Linked DNA regions of Homo sapiens: region 1 is linked to region 2. Evidence: promoter capture Hi-C in human tissues and cell types (Jung and others, 2019). All regions are on one chromosome and are shown on one strand. Each heading gives the region's core, a stretch centred on a gene start or on the middle of the fragment in contact. The rest is flanking DNA. Distances are from core to core; before and after follow the strand shown.

Region 1 (2,914 bases), core at 403-2,902, 190 kb after region 2:
GTCTTACCACGTTGCTCAGGCTGGTCTCGAACGCCCGGGTTCAAGCGATCTGCCTGCCTCAGCCTCTCAAAGTGCTGGGATTACAGGTGTGAGTCACCGTGTCTGGCCTAAAATGTTCTTGATACACCATCACCAGATGCCAGGTTCTCTCTCCTTGCTCTGGGCTCTCCCTCACTTTAAACACATCTGTACTATCACAGCCCAGCATGTTACAACTGCCCCTCCTGCCAGACGGTAAGCTTCGTCATCCTCCTACCAAACACTCCTGTGCATCTTGCTGGCACCATCCTGAAAGCTTTACGTACATTAATCATTCTGTCTGACAACCACTCTATGAACTGGTTACTATTATTATCCTCATTTTACATATGAGAACACCAAAGAACAGAGGGGTAAAGTCACGGGCCCAGGGTCACCCAGCTAGTGGGTGGAGCAGTGAAAGCTGGCACCCAGATGGGCTGGCCCAGAGTCTGAGTTTCTCAAAGGCAGCTGCTCGTCTTTTCATCTCCGTCCACAAGCTTGGCTCACAGAAAGTTTGTCAAAACAAAAATTTAACTGAGTAAATATTATGCATAGAAAAAACAAAGCCTGATAGAAAACAAACCAAGATAGACTGACAGAAAACATGCCATTGAGTAGATGAGGGTGCTGGGTTTATGGGCTTTTGTTTTTTCCTTTTCCCTATTTTCCAGATGCTATGTAAAGCGATTATAGTTTTCAAAGGAAGTAGCAGTATAGGCTGAGCCTCTGGGGGCTGCAGCCGGGAAGATGGGGACCTGTGGGACTCAGGCCTGGCCTGGAAGAGCGCAGAGAGGCTACCCCGAGGACGGGCCCACAGGGACGCGGAGGGGTGCGCCCAGGAAGGGCAGAGAGTCAAGAGCATCCAGCACCCATGAGCCTCAGATTGAGGGAGAAAGTCACCAGGGGTGCAGTGAAATCAAAGAAAGATTCCACACACCCCTTCGTCAATGGCCCAGCCTGTGTACCCCCCACCAGAGCCTGGGGCTAGGGGATGCCCCCCACACACCCACGACAGCATGGCCACAGAAACGACAGGCTTGGCTGGCATCCAGCCTTCAGGGTAGGCAGGAGGACGAGATGACGCAATGGAGGGAAGGTGTCTGGGACACAGGCCGACTGTGGGCACACAAACAGTGGCCATTGTTATCACTAGGTGGAAGAAAGGAAATGACAGCCACGGGGCCACATCCTGGAACACTCACGGCATTGCCAACCAGGAAGGCGGGCCAGCAGGGAGAAAGTGCTCACACGTGCTTCCTTCTGTCCCTGCCACCTTGGACCCTGGAGCCTAGGCTCTTCCCAGCACAGCTGCAAGAGGGGGATGGTGGATGAGGGCCCCCCGCATCATGCCTCACTTCATCTCTCCCCCTGGCTTCTCACAGCGTCCTACCCTTGACCTTCCCGTGGGGTAGACAATCACTTTTCCCCACTGATGACCGGCCCCTCCTCCTCCTTACCTGGGCTTCTCCCTGCACCCCCAGGATGCCCAGGTCACCTGACACAGACCGCACCTCGGCTGTGTCAAGCAGCTCTCTCAAACACCACAAGCAGAAAGACAAAGACCCAAGACCTTTGGTGGTGGGGGTTGACAGTGACAATTCTGCCTGTCCAAGCCAGGCAATTTCCAGGTACCAATTTTGGTGCCCCTGCTGAGGGAAGCCAGATATTTCTGGCCGTTTTCCTTATCTCTGCTCACCCATCCTCTGTCAAAACCAAGCTTGCCTGCTGGGTTCATTGAGGGAAGACTGACAGAGAGTGTGCTGGTGTGAGGGTCCCCTGGAGGAGCTGAAGGACGGGAGGAACAAGTATTATTATCCCATCTTCCCATCTCAGAGATCAAGAAACTGAGGCCCAGAGAGGCCCTGAATTGTACATGTTCAAAGGGCAAATTAAGGCCGGGCACAGTGGCTCGTGCCTGTAATTCCAGCATTTTGGGAGGCTGAGGCAGACGGATTGCTTGAGCCCAGGAATTTGAGACCAGCCTGGGGAACATGGCAAAACCCTGTCTCTACAAAATATAAAATAAAATTAGCTGGGCATGGTGGTGTGCGCCTGTGGTCCCAGCTACTCGGGAGGCTAAGGCAAGAGGATTGCTTGATCCTCTTGAGGTCGAGACTGCAGTGAGCCAAGATTGCACTACTGCACTCCAGCCTGGGAGACAGAGCAAGACCCTGCCTCAAAAACAAAACAAAACAAAGGGCAAATTAAAGTTGATGTCCACCAAAAAACAAAAACAAACGGGCTGGGCGCAGTGGCTCACGCCTGTAATCCCAGCACTTTGGGAGGTTAAGGCGGGCGGATCACGAAATCAGGAGATTGAGACCATCCTGGCTAACATGGTGAAACCCCGTCTCTACTAAAAATACAAAAAAAATTAGCTGGGCGTGGTGGCGGGTGCCTGTAGTCCCAGCTATTCGGGAGGCTGAGGCAGGAGAATGGCGTGAACCCGGGAGGCGGAGCTTGCAGTGAGCCGAGATCATGTCACTGCACTCCAGCCTGGGCGAGAGCGAGACTCTGTCTCAAAAAAAAAGAAAGAAAGAAAAACAAACGAAGAAACAAAAAACCTCGAGTGGGAACAGAGGGAGATTGGAGCCAATGGTAGCATCTCTGATGAGTTCCCTGGAAGTGACTACCTGGGTTCATAAAACAGTCAACAGAGAGACCCAAGACCAGTCCCTGTCTCGCCAAGTGCACGGTCCCCTGAGGGAAGGACCCCTAAAGGGGATGACTTTTTAGCTGAACTTTCCAGGAAGAACAGGAGTTTGCCAGCGGGGGAAATGGCGAGAGGCCTTCACAGCAGATGAAGCAGATCAGAACACGGAGGAAGGCAGAGATCAGGGGCTTGCTCAGCCCACCCATGAACGGTGAGCATTTTCACTGGGACTGGACGGCT
Region 2 (3,051 bases), core at 306-2,805:
ACCACAGCAGCTGGTGGCATAGTGTGCGTATCTGTGGGCAGGAGTTAGTGAAGGCCTCCTTCCCTCCCTCCAAAGCCCCAGGCCCCACGGTCTGCCACCCGCAAAATTCCAACCACGAGGGGGCGCCTTCCTGCCCGCCGCCCCGTAGGGAGACCCGGCCTAGGCCGCTGGAGTTCCGAGTTCCAGGGTCCTTGTGATGGAAGGGCGGGCGCGGCCCCCACACCTGGTCTTCCAGCCCTATCCAAGGAGGACTGCCAGACAGTCCCGCTCTGAGGTGCAGGAGGCCGGGCCGCCTCGGCTACCCTGAATCCACCCGAAGCTAGAGGGCCCGAGCCCGGGGGGCGGTCGGGTGCTCACCTCCAGAGCTTGCCCAGCGTCTTGCTGAGCTCAGCGTTGTGCAGGTGCGGGTACTGGTCCGCGAGCTTCCTGCGCGCTGCCTGAGCCCACACCATGAAGGCGTTCATGGGCCGCTTGACGTGCGGCTTGCTTTTGCTGGCGCCGTTGACGCGCACGGGCATGGGCACCAGCGTCCAGTCGTAGCCGCTGAGCACCTGGCTGACGGCCTCGCGGATGCACACGGGGAACTTGTCATCGTCCGCCTCGCCGTCCTGCTGCTCCTTCTTGACCTTGCCCAGCTCGCCTGGCCCCGGGCTGGCTCGCAGGCCCGATCCGCCGCCGCCGCCGTCGGGCCCTAGCGAGGGCGCGCTCCCCGGGGACAGGCAGCGGGGCTCCTCCGAGCCCACGGGGCTCAGCTCCACCTCCGATAGGTCCTGCTCCTCCGCCATGTCGCCCCCGGCCGCCGCCGCCGCCGCCTCGGCCGCCTCCCCCGGGCCAGCCGCCGGGGTCCTCGCAAAGAGTCCAACGCCCACCTGGATGGAAGGAGGGCGCGATGGAGCGGCCGCGCGCGCAGCCCCGAGGGCGGCCCGAGACAGGACGTGGGCACAGCCCCGAGGTGGCGGCCCTTCCTGCTCCAGCTAAACCCATCTGGCCCCTGGGGCCCACGCACATGCCAGACTCTAGGTGGGTGCGTCCCGCCTCTGTGTCTTCCCACCACCTGGTCCCAACCGTCTCTTGGTGTGGGTGGCTTTTTTTTTAGCCTCCTTTTTTGGGTGGAGGTTTGTTGATGATAAGGAAGAAAAAAACGGAGCCTTTATTTTGCTCTAATCCCGGCCCCTGGAATTTCCCACCTTTTCTCTCACCTTTCCTTCTTCCCTCAGCCTGCCCCAACGGGGTTTAGAGGAGAGCCAGGTGGGGGGCAAGGGCGGGGTGTCGCCTCTCTCCACCTCACAGCAGGGTCCCAGGCCTGGGCGGGCCAGGGAGGAGCAGGCTGCGCACTCACCTCCTCGGACCTCTCCTCCAGTCTGGGGCTCGTCCTTAGGAAGTGGAAAACCGTGTCCCAAGGTGTGCGGTCCAGCTCGGGGCTGGGAGGTGACGCTGGTGGGCTGGGAGGGAGGGGCGGGGGGCCCTGAGCCTCAGGCCACGGCCTCGTTAGGACGGAGCCTGAATCCTTACCACCAACCACCCTGGCCGGACAGCCCGAGACTGACTGAGCGACTGAGCCTGAGCCGCTGCGGAGGGCTGGGGAAGGAAGGAGGGGGAGAGGGGGGAGGGGAGAGGAGGGAGGGAAGGGCAGAAGGTGGAGCCTCCAGGCTTTCCTTCATCCCCAACACTCAGGGCTCCTCCACCCGGAGCCCAGGCCCCCCCACCCAGCTCCCTGCCCTACTGCCCAGGCCCATCTTGCTGAGGCTTATCTTGGGCTTAGTCTGGGAGGTGGAGGGGAGGTTAGGCCGAGGAAGGAAGAGATGTAGGCTGGAGGGTCAGAACCTGTTGGATGGAAGAAAATTGGGCCCAACCAGGACTCCTAACGTCTGCCTCAGGTGGCAGGATGGGCACTTGGCAGGGGACTAGGGAGAGACGTGAAGGCGGTGAGGGTCCTGGGGGCCCGTGAGGGTGGCTGGCCCTAGCTGCTTCGTCTGCGAAATCCTGTTGAGTGCCTAGTGTGTGCCAGGCACTGATGCCCAGCTCCTCACCCTGCCTCCTACCTTTTCCCAGGCAGCCCTTTCTGCCCCATCCTGCACAGTAAGAGAGACTTCTCAGGGATCCCTCTGAGAAGTGCAGAGCCCCAGCTTGACCCCTGGTCCCTTCTCTGCAGACACCCAGCACACGCGCGTTCTGGTCTGGTTCAAGGTGGAAACACAAGACTAAAGCTGCCAGGAGGCCAAGGTGGGACAGGTTGGGGGCCCTCTCTCAGTAGGTCTTAGAGGCATTTTGGGTTGCTACCTACTGGGACCCAGCTCCTTCCACACTGGGCTCACCCTGTCTTGGGAGAGGGTAGGGGAGTCCTAGTCCTGATTGTCACGAAGTCCTCTACTCCCCCACCCCAACAAGGGGTGGGGACTTGCCCTGCCTCTTCCCTCCTCTGCCCACCTCTCCCTCCCTCCCCTTTTCTTTCCTGCCCATCCTCCGTTGACACCTTTTTCTCTCTCTTTCCTTGGCCTCTCCTCCAAAGGTCGCAGTGCTGTTCTCTTAACTGAGGGCAGCCCCGCCGGGGTGTTGAGGCCGAGGTGGGGTGTATGTGGGTTATGTAATGGAGCTGGGGTCGCATTGGCAACCATGTGACGTTCTGAGCTCCTCAACAGCAGGGCAAAGCCCCAAGACCACCCCAAGGGGTCCTGTCTGGAGTGGGCTGCAAAGGGTCTGGGGAGGCAAGGCCTCATGCTTGGGAAAGTCCAAAGGGGTGTAGGGGGTGGGAAATGGGACACAATGAGGTAGTCACACGAGGCAGAGGCATGTTGGGGGTGGGGGGAGCAGACACTGGAACACACACACACACACACACACACACACACACACATGCTCACACACACAACCAGCCAGACAATCGGGCCAGTGTGTCTGGGGCCTCGGAGCCCAGTGAATTAGGAGTTTGATAAGGGTTTTCTCTTTCTCTCGCTTGCTGGCCTTGGACAATCTCCCCCCAGTTTTCCTCGACGCCACCCCCGGCGCTGCCAACCCTCCTCCCCCCGCCTCCCTTCTCTTCCCTGTGCCCAG

What was found. Contacts are between HindIII fragments. The study calls those that stand out against the background at their distance.
Region 1: a fragment that was not itself captured here is called in contact with the fragment with the promoter of SOX10 in region 2 in 4 of the 25 tissues and cell types used here (dorsolateral prefrontal cortex, hippocampus, lymphoblastoid cells and 1 more).

Annotation. Positions count from the first base shown.
Region 1 is chr22:38,171,854-38,174,767 of GRCh38, forward strand. The region is part of intron 1 of PLA2G6 (phospholipase A2 group VI); the gene reads right to left. Among named protein-coding and RNA genes, the nearest start is that of PLA2G6, 8.5 kb to the right of the region's middle. RefSeq lists an enhancer at 2,257-2,401 and a cis regulatory region at 2,329. The HindIII fragment of the contact is 3,596 bases long and covers 1-2,914 here.
Region 2 is chr22:37,983,000-37,986,050 of GRCh38, forward strand. SOX10 (SRY-box transcription factor 10) reads right to left here and starts at 1,556. Exons shown (of 4, transcript NM_006941.4): 1 at 1,340-1,556; 2 at 358-869. The coding sequence starts at 785. It also overlaps a transcript of POLR2F not described here. RefSeq lists enhancers at 1-662, 2,617-3,051. The HindIII fragment of the contact is 28,697 bases long and covers 1-3,051 here.